Linked DNA regions of Homo sapiens: region 2 is linked to region 1. The links are contacts of gene promoters, found by promoter capture Hi-C in human tissues and cell types (Jung and others, 2019). All regions are on one chromosome and are shown on one strand. The core of a region is centred on a gene start or on the middle of the fragment in contact, and the rest is flanking DNA. Distances in the headings are between cores, read along the strand shown. Region 1 holds the start of DLGAP1 (DLG associated protein 1). Region 2 has its middle 62 kb from the start of DLGAP1.

Region 1 (7,401 bases), core at 4,636-7,135:
AGAGTAAACTTAGGACCAAAGAACACAGCATCTGACATTGCAAAGAAGTGCCATGCAAAAGCTGTGTAACACCATCCTCAGAGTTATGGCCCTTATGCACTAAGAATACAGATGTGCATTCACTTGTTTATTCATTCACTCAACCAATGTTTACCCACCATTTATTAAGTGCCAGGTGCTGTGCTAGGCATCAGTGATATTTGGTGAACATTCTATATTTAGTTCTTGATCTCACGGAATGCACAGTTCAGTGGGGAAAGCAATCTGACACTCACAAGTCAACACATCATTATTGACCGTAAAAGGACCATGAAAAAGGAATAAAGTGCTAAAACAGCATTCAGCTGGAGACCTTCCCTGATTAAATGACTTTTCAGCTGAAGTCCAGGAAAGAGGGAACAATGTAAGAAACAGCATTCCAAGGAGAGGGGGAAAGATTTCTTAGCCTGCTCCATAGAAGCTCTAGAATCAAGTGAGTCTTATCTGAACTACCTAGGCAAGGATTCACAGGAAAGACTTCCAAATGCATTACCACTTCAAGATTCCCCTGCTGACCCTCCCAAACTCTAAACGGAAAGCACATCCTAATTTGAAAGGATGAAAAGGTGACTTTGCCTTCTGGGTTAATGTCTACACGAAAATAGCTTTGAAGAGAGTGAATGTGCCTTGTCTTTTTGCTAGTATAGTATGATGAATCATATCAAAGAATGGTTGTTTGCAAAGTCTGAGACAAGATCAAAATGCCATTTTCCTCTGAAACTGCAGCATGTGTTTTGTAAAGAAATCTTAGTGATATCTAGCAGGGAAATTTGCAGTCCAGAAATAGACTCCACACTGATTTCTACTGAAATTGAAACCAAGAAAGAAGGGGTATCCAGGGAAAGGGTGTAATCATGAGGTTAGAATGAGGGTTAGTGCCAGTCCTCCTATCACATACTCAGATGTTCTCCAGTAGTAGAATTAAAACAGCAAGTTACTCTAGCAGATGTTTTCAAATTAGCTAAAACCGTGTCACCAGAGTAAAGCAGCAAAGCTGGAAATGTGCCCAGAGAGACCTTCCCACAAGCCGCCTGAGGGAGCCATTTAAATGTCTCTGAGCCCTCCTAGTGCAGAGATTCAGATGCAAGGCTAGGGAGATAAGCAAGTCACAGCACAATGTCTCCTCATCCAAATGCTTATCCATGGCTTCAGTAAGACCACAACTCTGCTGAATATTAAGAAAACCTGGCAAGATTGAGCAGTTCCAAATCACACACTTTGTGGTTTGCTGTTGTGCTGTTGCTTACAAATCTGATAAGAAAACATTGAGAGAAGACAGAGAAATTGTCAATGGCAACAGATGAGCAAACCATGATAAGTGAATATGAAAATGAACAGTTTGGTTGCTGGCAAATCCTAGGGAGAGGGAGGAAGGTGGTTTGCATCTTCATAACATATTCAGAACACTGATATCTAGTTCACAATTAGATATCCAGTGGGACAATCACATCCCAGCTATGCTGGTTGTCTATCCAAGAAAAAGTCCAAGGATCTGAGCCAAATATCTGTGGATATAGATCCACAGGGCTTCCTTTTGCATGAGCTGGTTTTCCTAAGTGGGATGTTACTTGCTGCCCAGTAATCATTAACTCCTATAGGAGGGAGAAAATAATAAAGCAACCAGGAAAAATCTTAAGTCAATAATGGATGAAGATAACCCTGTTTCTCACTTATACAACAGCTATCTGTCCCCTACCATTTACTAGAGAGAAGGATGGGAAATGGTTGGGTCAACACGGCTCCTGTGCAATACCAACCTCTGTACAATCAGACTAAAGAACAGAAGACCTCAAAGGGATGTCATTCACCTTTTTAACTGCCTTATAATCACACCTCATTTTTTTCTTGTTCTCAATCACATGTTTTGCTCTGTAGGTGTGTGTTTGGCAGGGTTACAGGGAAAGGTGTAGCAAATATACAGTATACAGCATTGTATAAGCTAAATAGTTACATCTTAGAAGCAAAAGAACTGGTACCTGGTATCTCATACAATCGGTTATCTGTGGGTGTCTAATAGATTAAAATGAATGTCAGAAGACTATTTCTAAATCCTCCTCTGTGGTAATGCAATGTTTTAGATCTTCCTAGGAACAGCATCTTTGGCAATTCCTGATAGACCACACAACTAGAGAAAGTCACCTTCATCGGGCAGTAACAAGAATCGAGCTACAAATTCTCATGCTTCGGAAAAAAGAAAGAAAAAACATCTTTTGAGGGACACTGTAGTTATTCCTCTCTGAAAATAGAGAACTAGTAGCACTTAGGATCTTAGGAAATAAAACAGCTCAAGATATGGGATGTTTTTGAACATTCAGGTGTTTCAACAACAACATAAAGATTTTTCTACAATGCTAGCAAAGTATCTTTTTGTGATAGTGTTTCTTTAAAATAAAAAAAATGTACAAAAGACCAACATACCACAGACATAGGCATAGATTATAACTATGAGAAGTGAGGATTGGGGAAACGTGTTTAGGTTTTTCAAGAGTCTTTTTAGCCTTCTTATTTCAATGGTGTTCCTGTACCAGGGGAAATATAATTACCAATGGAAAAAGAGAAAATAAACAAAATAACCTAAAATTGTATCATTTTCTTAATTTAAGAAAAGAGAGGTAAGTGTGATTTCTATAGAGATGAAATCTACATAAAAGTAGATTTTAATTGGATGCTTCCTGAGAGGAAACCAATTTCCTCTCCTCTGATAAACAGTGGAGCAATTTGTGGGAATGGTCATGAAGGTAACATGAATTTGAGCTGATCATAGAAATTTCACTATAGAAATACACATTAGATAACATTTTACTATTATCTCTGAATTTGAAATATTACGAGATCAGAATCAAAACACTGAATTCTTTGTTTCTGAAAGAGTTGATGTTCAAAGAATATGGTATTCATCTCGATTAAGTTGTAGATGAAACTATTACTTTGCTGCATATTAGTGAATATTGCTCATATTCACTAAAATGAGTACTTTGTAAAACAAGTCCCCCTCTTCCAAGTTTTAATTTTATATTTAAAAAAAATCAATCTAAATGGCTATATGGAACAAAGGCACACATATTTAATAGAGTTAACTCAAAGTGCATGCAGTTTCTATTCCCAAATTGGGTTGAATAGGACACTTAAGCTTAGAAGGATTTAAAAAGTAGAACACTACAATTAGTTTTAGGCTATTTCTCTATATGCGCTACATAATATTTTGGAAGGAAGGTCTTGTCTCCATTTGCTTTCACTAATCGCTAATATGCTTTTACTGGGTTTTTAGTCCTGGCAGAACAAAGCTTATGTTGATGGAGAAATTAAAGATGCTAAACCATGAAAATTCCCTCCTAGGGAAAACTCATATACTCATTATTTCCCCAAAGCACAATTGCTTGTGTGAGATTTAAGAAGCCTTGTCAGAAAATTATTTTGACATATTTAAAAGAATGTTAACCAGTTCCTTTTGCCCATATTTATATTGCCTGTAATGTTTGAGATAAAGTATTGTATTTGCAGACTAATCTTAGAATGAAATATAGAGAAATAGATAGCTATAAATTTAAAAAAATCTATGTATGCAAGTACATTCTTCTTTACTCACACAAGGTAACTAACATTTTCTCTTAAGTAAATTAGTTTTTTAAAAATTCACAGAATTTTATATCTGCGACTAGGGGTATTGCAAGGCACTAACCAACTGAAACAACTTTACATTTAAGTACTAAATCTAAAGGAAATTAAGAACAGGGCTACTGACACCTGACTTCTATGAACTTTCTTGTTTCATGCCAGAGTATGAATTTTCTGAACCAAGGGTAGCGTTTATAACTTAAACTTTTTAAAATCATACATTTTGCATAGACATATTCATTATTTCTTTATAGGCTTGAATTTCCTTTTAAAAACTTAAAGAAAACTTTATATTCTTCTGGCATGAAATAAATTAGGATCTTGTAAAATTTCTTGCCTCCATGTCATTTCCGTTCAAGTTTTATTCAAGGAATAAAAAGTATTGCTTTATATGCAAAATGACCTAGGCCAATAGAAAGTCGTTTCCTGAACTGAAATCGTGCTATAAATAACAGTCAAAGGGCTGTTCTTTTTAGAACAGCTCTTTCAGGGTAAAAAATAATTTGCAGGATGTTTGCCTTAGGACCTAAAATCGCTTTCCTAGTTCTCAGCATTTCTCATCTCCATGTCTAACCACATCTTAGACTGATCTATCCTCACCTTCTACGAAGCCATTCACGAAGACCACAAAAGCTAAAAGATCTGTCTTTAATTGGTACTTTTATTATATGTCTTTCCTCGTAATTCCCTAACTTCACGTGTTATGGAAGGAGGCAGGGAGCATTCACCTCCCACGACCGGGAGTCAGTCTCTGTGTCAGGAGTAAGGAGTGAAGAGTCTCGCCTGGATCCACAAAAGACGTGACATCTCCCACCCAGCGTCCCACTGCTTGCCGCCTGGCTACCTTTAACCCCTTGCCCTCCGCACATCCTCCCCTTCTCTAGCAGAAAATTCCGCAGCGCTACGGTCGGGCTGGAGGCAAGCCCTGCAGCCGGGGGCGAGCGCGGCACTCGGACACAGGCACTCAGTGTCTCCGGCGCCGGCAGCCGAGCCACGGGCCACCCCTTCCCACGGCCTCCCGGTGCCACCCAGCGAGGCCGGGACAGCGCGCCTTCCGCAAAAAGCGCAGCAGCCGAAGTCCTGAAAGCAGGGTCTTCATCGCCGCGGGCCCTCCGAAGGTGCCTCTCCCAGCTGCAGCCGCCCCTCAATGAAAGTGCAATGTGTTATCTCGCCCAGCCCAGAGGAGAGGTCCCTGTTTGGCCTTGGTTCCAGCCCGGCTCATTCAATTCGCTGAATGTCGGGTCTCCCGGCCCGCCCCGCGATTCTCCGGGAATTGGCCTTGGCCGCGGGCAGGGGGCGACTCTCCAGTGACCTCCTCCTTGGACCCCATTTCTCTCTCTCTCTCTCTCTCTGTGCCTGTCTTTGTGTCTCTGTTTCTTTGGCTTTCTCTTACAAACGCACGGGGGAGTTGGTCCTTTTCCACAATGCCAAAATGTCACCCAAAAAGCTAGTGCAACAACTTGCTTTGCAAACGACCCAGGAGCCTGCCGAGAAAGCCCTGCGGGGAGCAGCCCCCTCCTCCCCTGCAAGGTGCATCGGGGGTGGGGTGGGGGTGCGAATTTGACCGGTGGACATGACCGGGACAGGGGACCGGTGTTCTCCTCCCCTCCCCCTTCCGGGACCCTGTCGCAATTAGAAATCCTTCCCCTGCCTGGGTCCCCGTGGGGAGCCGCGAGGACCGCATGGCCGGAGAGGACGCGCTCGCCCCCGAGATCCCAGGTTACCCGGAGGGCCCGGGAGTGCACCCCGGGCGGCTGAAAGGGTAAGGAGCGCGGACTCTCGAGCCAGCGGCCGGGGGAGCCCAGCCCGCAGCCCCTCCGCGGGCGAGGGAAGCGGCGACCGCGCGGCAGGCAGCAGCCAGGAGCCACCCAGCGCGCCGCGACCGCCGCCGCCGCGCACGCCCCAGCCCCGCGGCGCAGCCCGGCGTTACCTGGCCGCGTCCCGCAGTCCGGCCCTCGCTGGCTGCGTCCGTCCGTTGGTCCCACGAGCCTCGGAGGAAGGAGAGAGATGTCCCCGCGACCAGGACCGGCTCTCAGCGAGGTGACGGGAAGGACTCGAGAGAGGAGCCGAGGCGGCGGCGGCCGTTCGCGCCGCCTATGCTGCCGATTCCCCGAGGCGGAAGGTGTCCGCGAGGCCGTGTCCTGGAGATTGCGGCGCCCGAAGCGCAGCGCTCGCCTCTGGAGCGGAGGCTGAGCGCCGGGACGCGGCGGGCTGGGGCTGCAAGGCTGGGCTGGTGACCCGCCCCTGGGTGCATGTTAATACGGTGGGGAGGAGGAGTCCCGCGCTTCCTCCGCCCAACCACCGGAGCCGGCGGGCGGGCGGCGGCCGCGGCCCGGAGCCAGCCGCTCCCACCCGCCCCAGCTACTACGGCGCGGCGCGACCGCGGGCTCCGGCCCCAGCCCAGGCACGTGCGCCCAGGCCGCGGGGAGGCGCCGGCGCCTCCCGGAACGCGCTCCTGGCCTGCGAGTGCTGCCCGCTCAGTCTCCGGGTGGGAAGTGCGCTCGCCCCGGACCGAGGGGAAAGCCCAACATCCCCGGGATGGAACAGAGAGGCGGCCACCCGTGAGTGGGCGTGACCCATTGGTTCCCTTGCGCAGCATCTGTGGAGAATTAAGCTTTCCCCTCCTCTCTTGCCAGCCGTTGTTCCTAATCTTGTCTTTTTTAAGGGAGGAAAGCAGGAGAACTCATGACACTTTGTATCACAGGAAATCAAGTTGGTGGACAGAGGGTTTGCTGACCTCTCCCGTCCCTCCTCAGGGTCCCTAGGAGAATTTTTGAAGAAGTAATCGGCAGCAAGGAGATGGGGGCAATAGAGAGTCTCAGACTCGCAGGGACCCATGTTCGTCCCCAGCGCCACTACTTTCAAACCGTTATCCCTCAGAGCTGTTTCCTCACCTCCACAACAACTCTCCCGGGTTCGATGACACTATATATCCCACCAGTTCATCTTGGTACAGGCCAAAAGGTAATTCAAAAAGCGAAACGAATCTCATCTCCTGACCTGTGCCCTCGGTAAAGTCCCCAGGTTCCACCCCAAGTACACTTGGAAGCCAGGCCCCTCCACACAGGCTGAGCACCACGCTTCCACAAACTGAAAACAGAGAGAATCCACTTGGTTTCAAAGTTAGAATAGGGATAGCGGCGTGAGTGGGTGAATTGCGATGTGGGTCAAGGAGAGAAAAAAGTAAATCAATTAAGTATTTATTGAGCTCCTGCGCTGCCCACTTAATTGCAAACGTTACAGTAGTTAAAATAATCGTGGTTAATCACTGCCTTATTATTTCCTTCTATTAAAAAAAGAAATGGCATCTTCATGGAGAATGTCCTTTGTTCTACAGCTTCCTGAGGGAATATTATGCCAAAAAGTACATAATCTTTATGTAATTTTATCCAGAAGTTATAGCATAAGATTTAGCATCTGTTTTGTGTGATGTCTAATTATAAATATTAATAGAATATCCTTTTAAAGACAACACTTCTAAAAATGCAAGGAAGTGAAAAACAGTTTTCATAAAAATATGACTCAGATAAATAACCTCTTTCCTGCAATTTCACTGAGTGATTTTCCATTAAAGAAAATAACAATTACTGAAACCACTAAATGGAGGTAAATTCTCAGCATTGTAATATCATGAGCACCGACGCTTTAGCAATGATCTAAAAGATATTCTCAGACAATTCAAGAATTACTATAGGGGCCCAGCTCAGTGGCTCACACCTCTAATCCTGGCACTTTGGGAGGCCGAGA
Region 2 (6,632 bases), core at 651-3,150, 60 kb after region 1:
ATTTGCATCAAGTTTGCATTATTATTTTGTAATTAATTGAGTGGCTTTTTCTCTTACTATATTTTCTATAATAATTTCCTTTTAGTTCTTTTTAAAGTTTGGACTGTGTGTGTATGAGTATGGGTAAGGTATGAGAGTGCATAATTTGAGTGAAAAGAAAGAAATTTGGTTACATTTGGAATTAGCTTAATGCTTGGATATTGATTAAGGTTTCTTATTTCTTCTTGAATTAGTTGGAGTAATTTACTTTTCCTCTAGGGAATGATCTATTTCATCTGAAAATGTTAAATATATTGAAATAGTAAATATTCATAATTTTTCTTACTTTTAAAAATCTCTACATGTTATTTTCTCTTCTTTTATTGTAATAATATTTATTGTGACATTGTCTTTTCGGTTATGAGTTTTTGCAATTATTCCTTAGACTTTTAAAAAAAGGTATTTTGTTTTATTTTCTACACTAATTTTAGTTAGAAACTTAGCTTAATTACCAAATCTAATGGCTAATGCTAGGAATTGATTTTTCTTAACCTATCAGTGTCAATTGACTGGTTAAAACGCTTTCTTCATTTGGCTTCTGGAACATTACCTTTTCTTGATTTCCCTCTTACTTCACTTGTTACTGTTGTTTAGTCTCCTTCATTGGATCATTTTTATTTCCATGTAGTATGATGCCCCTAGGTTTAGTTTTGAACCTCCTCTCATCATATACATTCATCATCTTCTCCAGATCATCTCATTCATTCCTGTGTTGATAAATATCTCCTATATGCTTGTGAGTCCCACATGTACTTATACCTGTTTCCTGAGATTCAGACCCATATCCATCTCCTTACTTGACATATTCATTTGAATGTCTATGAAGCATCTGTGTAATAACATGTTTAAAAAATCACTAAAATTTCCCCTTCTCCCCCAGCTTACCCCATCTCAGGATAGTATAAATTCATTATTTTAGTTACTGGGCCACAGTCTATGGAGTTATCTTGAGTCCTCCCTATCTGTGAAACTCCACTTCCATTTCTTAGCAGGTTCTGTTGACAGTTTCTTTAAAATATATCTAGAATATGACTACTTGTCACTTGTGTCACTACCATTCTGAGTCCAGGCACTGTAGTTTCTTGACTGGCATTCCCAGAACCTAGAAAAATATCTGGATTAGAATATATGTTCATGAATGTATGTGAAGAGTTAAAGAATGTAGTTCTATTTGACTATAACATTCTAGGGCCTAAAGATACTTCACCAATAACATTAATGTTATTTTGTTTATATATGATAATAAGAATACCTGAGAAGCTTAAGTATTGCCCAAAATTATATTCCCATGGTGCCATCTTGTTCTCTTTATTGATTTTAATAGGGTGAATATGGTATTTCGGTATAGAATACATTTATCTTTAGATTTATTGCCTTTTCAAGCACATCATAAATTTTTAAAATTGGATCACCTTTTCTTGGATAGAGAACCAATATTCAATATAATTCAGTTCAATTCATTTCAATATATTTATTGATTTTTCTACTTTGCATAGCAATGTCCCAAATACTGCCAAATACTGTGGTGGATAAAAAATGAGTAAAACACAGTCTACATATCTGAGGGCTTACAACCTAGTCATAGTCCAACCAGAATATACATTTGTTAAAAGATAGAGAAATGGTACCAGAAATGAATAGTGAGAAATCTGGAAAAGCCTAATGAATTAGCCAAAATTTATATGAGGGTTTTGTGGGTCATATTGTGTCCCCCAGAAAGATATGTTAAAGGCTTAAACTCTGCTACCCCTGAGTGTGATCTTACTTGGAAGAGGGATCTTTGCAGATGTAATCAAATTAAGATGAGCTCATGTTTCATTAAAATGTGTCTGAATCCAACATTACTGGTGTCCTTATCAGGAGAGAACACCATGATCAGGAGAGAACACCATGATGCAGACACAGACACACAGGGGAGCACATCATGGAGGGTGGAGGCATAGATTAGAATGATGTATCTATAAGCAAAGGTGTATAAAAGATTTGCAGAACCTAAGGGACAGATTCTTCCTCAGGGGGAACCAACCCTGCAACAAAAACAACAATTTCTGTTATTTTCTAAGCCACACAATTTGTAATACTTTGCTTATGTCAGCCCAAGGAAAATAATACAAATTTTATTACCAGGAGTGGGATGCTGCTGTAATAAATGCTTAAAAAATGTGATAGTAGCTCTGGAATTGGATAATGGATAGCAGCAGGAAGAATTTTATGGTATATGTTAGAAAAACTTAGCCTTAAAGAGATCGTTGGTAGAAATACAAATGTTAAAGGCAATTTTGGTGAATGCTCAGAAATGACAAAGCTTCTTTTATCTTAGAGAGTACATATGTCAACATGAACAGAATGTTGCTAGAAATATGAACGTTAAAGGCGATTCTTGCAAGGCATCAGATGGAAACAAGGAAAGCAGAGCAAAGATGATCCTCATTATAAGATGGTAGAGACTTGGCTAATTGTCTTCTGCTGTTGGGTGTAAAATATAACTTTAGATGATGAACTTGGATATATTGCTGAGATTTCCAAGCAATGTGTGAAAGATGTGACCTTGTTTCTTCTTGCCACATACAGTAAAATGCAAAAGAAAATAAATTGACAAACTCTTAAGCAAAAAGAAACCAGAGCTTGATTATTTGAAAATTTTCAATCTCTCCATGTAACTTGCTCTGGAAACAGGGCCAATGAATTTCTGTAAAATATTTTGGTGGGCCGGGCACGGTGGCTCACACCTGTAATCCCAGCACTTTGGGAGGCCGAGACAGGTGGATCATGAGGTCAGGAGATCGAGACCATCCTGGCTAACATGGTGAAACCCTGTCTCTACTAAAAATACAAAAAATTAGTCAGGCATAGCGGCAGGTGCCTGTAGTCCCAGCTACTTGGGAGGCTGAGGCAGGAGAATGGCATGAACCCGGGAGGCGGACCTTGCAATAAGCCGAGATCGTGCCACTGCACTCCAGCCTGGGCGATAGAGCGAGATTCCATCTCAAAACAAAAATAAAACAAAACAAACAAACAAACAAAATATATATATATATATGAAGAGATTAGGCATGTGACTCACAGATCCAATTAGTCATCTCAACAAAGACACTTCCAGATTGGACTAAGAGGAGAAGAGACACACACATGGAGAGGAAAATGCCATGTGAAGACACAGAGGGCAGACAGGCATGACATCATAGAGATTGGAGTTACGCAGATGCAGATTGGAGTTATGCAGATCTAACACCAAGAATTGCTGGCAACCGCAGAAGCTAGGAGAGAGAGGATGGCCCTCCTGACACCTTGATTTTGGACCTATTGACTTCAGAACTGAAAGAATTTAAGTTTATATTGTTTCAAGCCACTTAGTTTGTGGTAATTTTTATGGCATCCCTAGGAAATGAATACAGGGAGTTTGGTGGTTATGAAGAACTCTGACTCCTTTAGAAGAATAGATTTAGACTCTAAGCCACTAGAGAAAAGTCAAAACACATGCATATTCAGGTAGTAACCAGACTATAATCTCACAGGACAAAATTTAAAAGGAACAGAATCTAGAGAAAGTTTGATACTATTCCTTCAGTATTGTGTGAGAAAAGGACAATGGTGAAAAATACATTTTACATTTCAATTTACATGTTTCACAAAATAACTCTTACCACACCATGATGCATTCTGATTCGTCTGTTCCATTCTATTTTCTTTTGTGTCATAAAAGAAGGCTGACCATGACTAACCAAGGTGATTTCAAGATCAGTCATGAAAAGCATTGTGTGTAAAAACACTCTAGCTCTAGCACTGCCTAACTTCCTTGCACTATTATCAAAGTCAAAAGTAGTCCGCATTTAGCTGGCATAAACTTGGATGCGTTCTCTTAAATTATGTTTTATTACTGATTTCTGCTCTTATTGTTATAGTCATTTAATAGAAAAAAATTGAGAACTACTCATCAAATGGTACATAAGGCACAGTGCCTTCTATGAATAATTTGACATATGTTAATCTACTATTTTCTTGTTCATTACATAAAGAGAACAAGGAGATTTTTCAATCTGTCCAAGTGTTTGTGAATAAATGTTATCATCTTGACTAAACTTTCCAATGTGGTAAAATAGATAAAGCAATAGATAATCTTGTGTTGATGTCATGTATTCTTGGTGAAGATTCAGGTCTTGCTTATTGGGAGAGACAGGGTAATAAAACCACTCAATTAGAGAGAAATTTCCTTGTCTTTAAGAATGTAGCGATTGACAGTGGCAGGACACTGGTAGTAATCCACTCATTAGCTATGGATGTTGCCATGGACACCAGTGCAGTACCGCAAATCATGAGTGGGAGAAAAAGAAAATTATGAGAACCAAGAATAGTTTCTCTACATGAAGTATATATTTCAGAGAGACAATCATTTACTTATGATTTTTTAACTGAGCTTTTCCTTTGTTTCAGACTCTGCTGATCTTCTTTAATGTCAAAGGCTCTCCTGTTAGAAATAGAAAAGAAAGAGTCTGATTTAAACAGTATTGCTGTTGTGTCCTATTTTGATCTTTTGTTTGGTCAGTCTGTAAAAACTTTTAATGCTTACAAAAGGAATTAGAAAATACATGGGCTGTCCTTGATAAACAATCTTCTGACTGATTTGCCCATTTAATACTACAAGTAACATTTGTTGTGGTAGAAATACTAATACTGCAACCTTGCTCCTAAAGAAATTATTTCAACTGGTCAGTCAGTTCTACTTTCAAATATTTCATTCATTCATTCATTCATTCACTCATGTTTACATTTTCATTTATTTCATAGATTGTGATATGAAGTGATAAAGTTCTGAAATAAATGTATATAATGTATTTTCACTATCATTGTAGTCACAAATTTGTTGTTGTATTTGGAAATACTGATGGGGATATTTTTACGTTTTTGTTCTGGACATGATGTATGTATGCAATGCAAAATAAGACCATTGAGCACTTCCTCATAAGGAAAAATCGCAACAGCGGTAGAAAAGGCCATGTATTAGTCAGGGTTCAGCCAGAGAAAAGAATCAGTAGGGGCAGGGGTGTATGTGTGTGTGTATGTGTGACAGAAAGAGAGAGAGACAGCCAGAGAGAGAGAGAAATTTGTTACAGGGGATTGGGGGAATTGACTTACACAATTGTGGGAGGTGGTTAAGCAGTCTCCGTAAGGCTGCTCTCTCCTCATATAGTCATGGATCTTGAAGTTCACAGGGTGTGCAGACGGAAAGGAAAATAGACGTAAAATGAGGAAGACCAAAGGCAGGATGGATTCCATAAGCATGAGCCAGAAACCCATCTGGAAGGATTGAGCATTATCTTCTTGCCTCTGCCCTTGATGCCAAATGTATCCTGCAGAAGCTATGCCTGTTGTCATGAAGTTAAATTGAAGCCCAGGAGTCAGAAATGCTAAAGGAGGCTCCAAGGAAAGGTGAAAACAATTTAGGTTCAGCTGCTACTTCTTGCCAACGAGGTGAGTCAGCACACTGGCAACAATGTGTGGGAACTACAAAATGGCTGATGCTCACCTTCTGCCTTGAAATCAGCACAAGGATCTCCCTTGTGGCCCACTCTTGTGCCTCAGTTTTCCTTTCTTGGAATGACTAGAAACTTCTCTGTCTTCTTTTAGACTTTTATAAATTATAATAGTAGTTATCAAGCATTGAACATTTGTCATGCAACAGGCACATATGTTGTCTCATTTAATCCTCATACATTTCCTGTGAGGTAAAGTCGATTAATAACCTAATTTTACAGATGAGGAAATCAAGGCTTAGAGAGATTAATAAACTTACATAAGGCTACGATGCTAAATTATTAGTGGAACAGAATTATGAATCTAGATGTCTAGGATCATGCTCATTCTCTGAACCTCCAAACCATGTCCATCTCTGCTATGGTCCACATGTGAATATACTCTAATTATTTCAATCTATTTGTATCTGTTTTTTCCAGCACACTAGAAATCCCTCAAGGCAATAAAACATCTTACTTTTTATTTTTCTCATGTCAATTTGTATTTCCTGTTGCTCTTTGTACTTTTTCCCTCTACAGCTATTTGGAGCACCAATATTGCTCTTTTTCTTTTTGTAACAACACAGAGAATAAAATCTCATTATAAGAAGATAACTTTAGTAAATTATAATCAAAAGCTTTTCTTGGCAGTAAGTTTTAAGCAAATAATTATAACTGTAAAAGCTTCAAGAAGTTGCAAGAAGCTTAACAGATTTTTTGTTCATTGTCTAAAAACATACATCAGTTCTTTGGAATGATAAGCCACTTTCATGGTCTTGCACATAAAACTTCAGCATCGTTCTGTTTGTAATGATTGGCCCAGGGCTATCAGAGAGATGTCTGGGAGAAGTGACTTTGCTGTGTCAGGCATCAGATAAGTGCTAACAAGAAGGTCAGTTGTCTTCCCTCCAGAATCAACAGCAAAAAGAAAATAAACCCTTTGGTGATTTCAAGAGGATAAATACATAAGATTAAAATAAAATTAAAAAGTGAGAAATATTGAATAAGCAAAGAAAAACCAAAATAAAAGCGATGGTCCCCATATTAGGAAAGAAAACTTCCTTATCAGAGAGGACTTTGCTG

Evidence for each region. The method cuts DNA at HindIII sites, captures the fragments that hold promoters and counts their contacts. A contact is called where the count stands out against the background at its distance.
Region 2: a contact is called between a fragment that was not itself captured here and the fragment with the promoter of DLGAP1 in region 1, in 2 of the 25 tissues and cell types used here (H1 embryonic stem cells and heart left ventricle).

Annotation. Positions count from the first base shown.
Region 1 is chr18:4,449,422-4,456,822 of GRCh38, forward strand. DLGAP1 (DLG associated protein 1) reads right to left here and starts at 5,886. Exons shown (of 13, transcript NM_004746.4): 1 at 5,585-5,886. RefSeq lists a silencer at 5,906-6,035. The HindIII fragment of the contact is 8,504 bases long and covers 1-7,280 here.
Region 2 is chr18:4,513,620-4,520,251 of GRCh38, forward strand. No RefSeq gene overlaps it. Among named protein-coding and RNA genes, the nearest start is that of DLGAP1, 62 kb to the left of the region's middle. The HindIII fragment of the contact is 4,730 bases long and covers 1-4,265 here.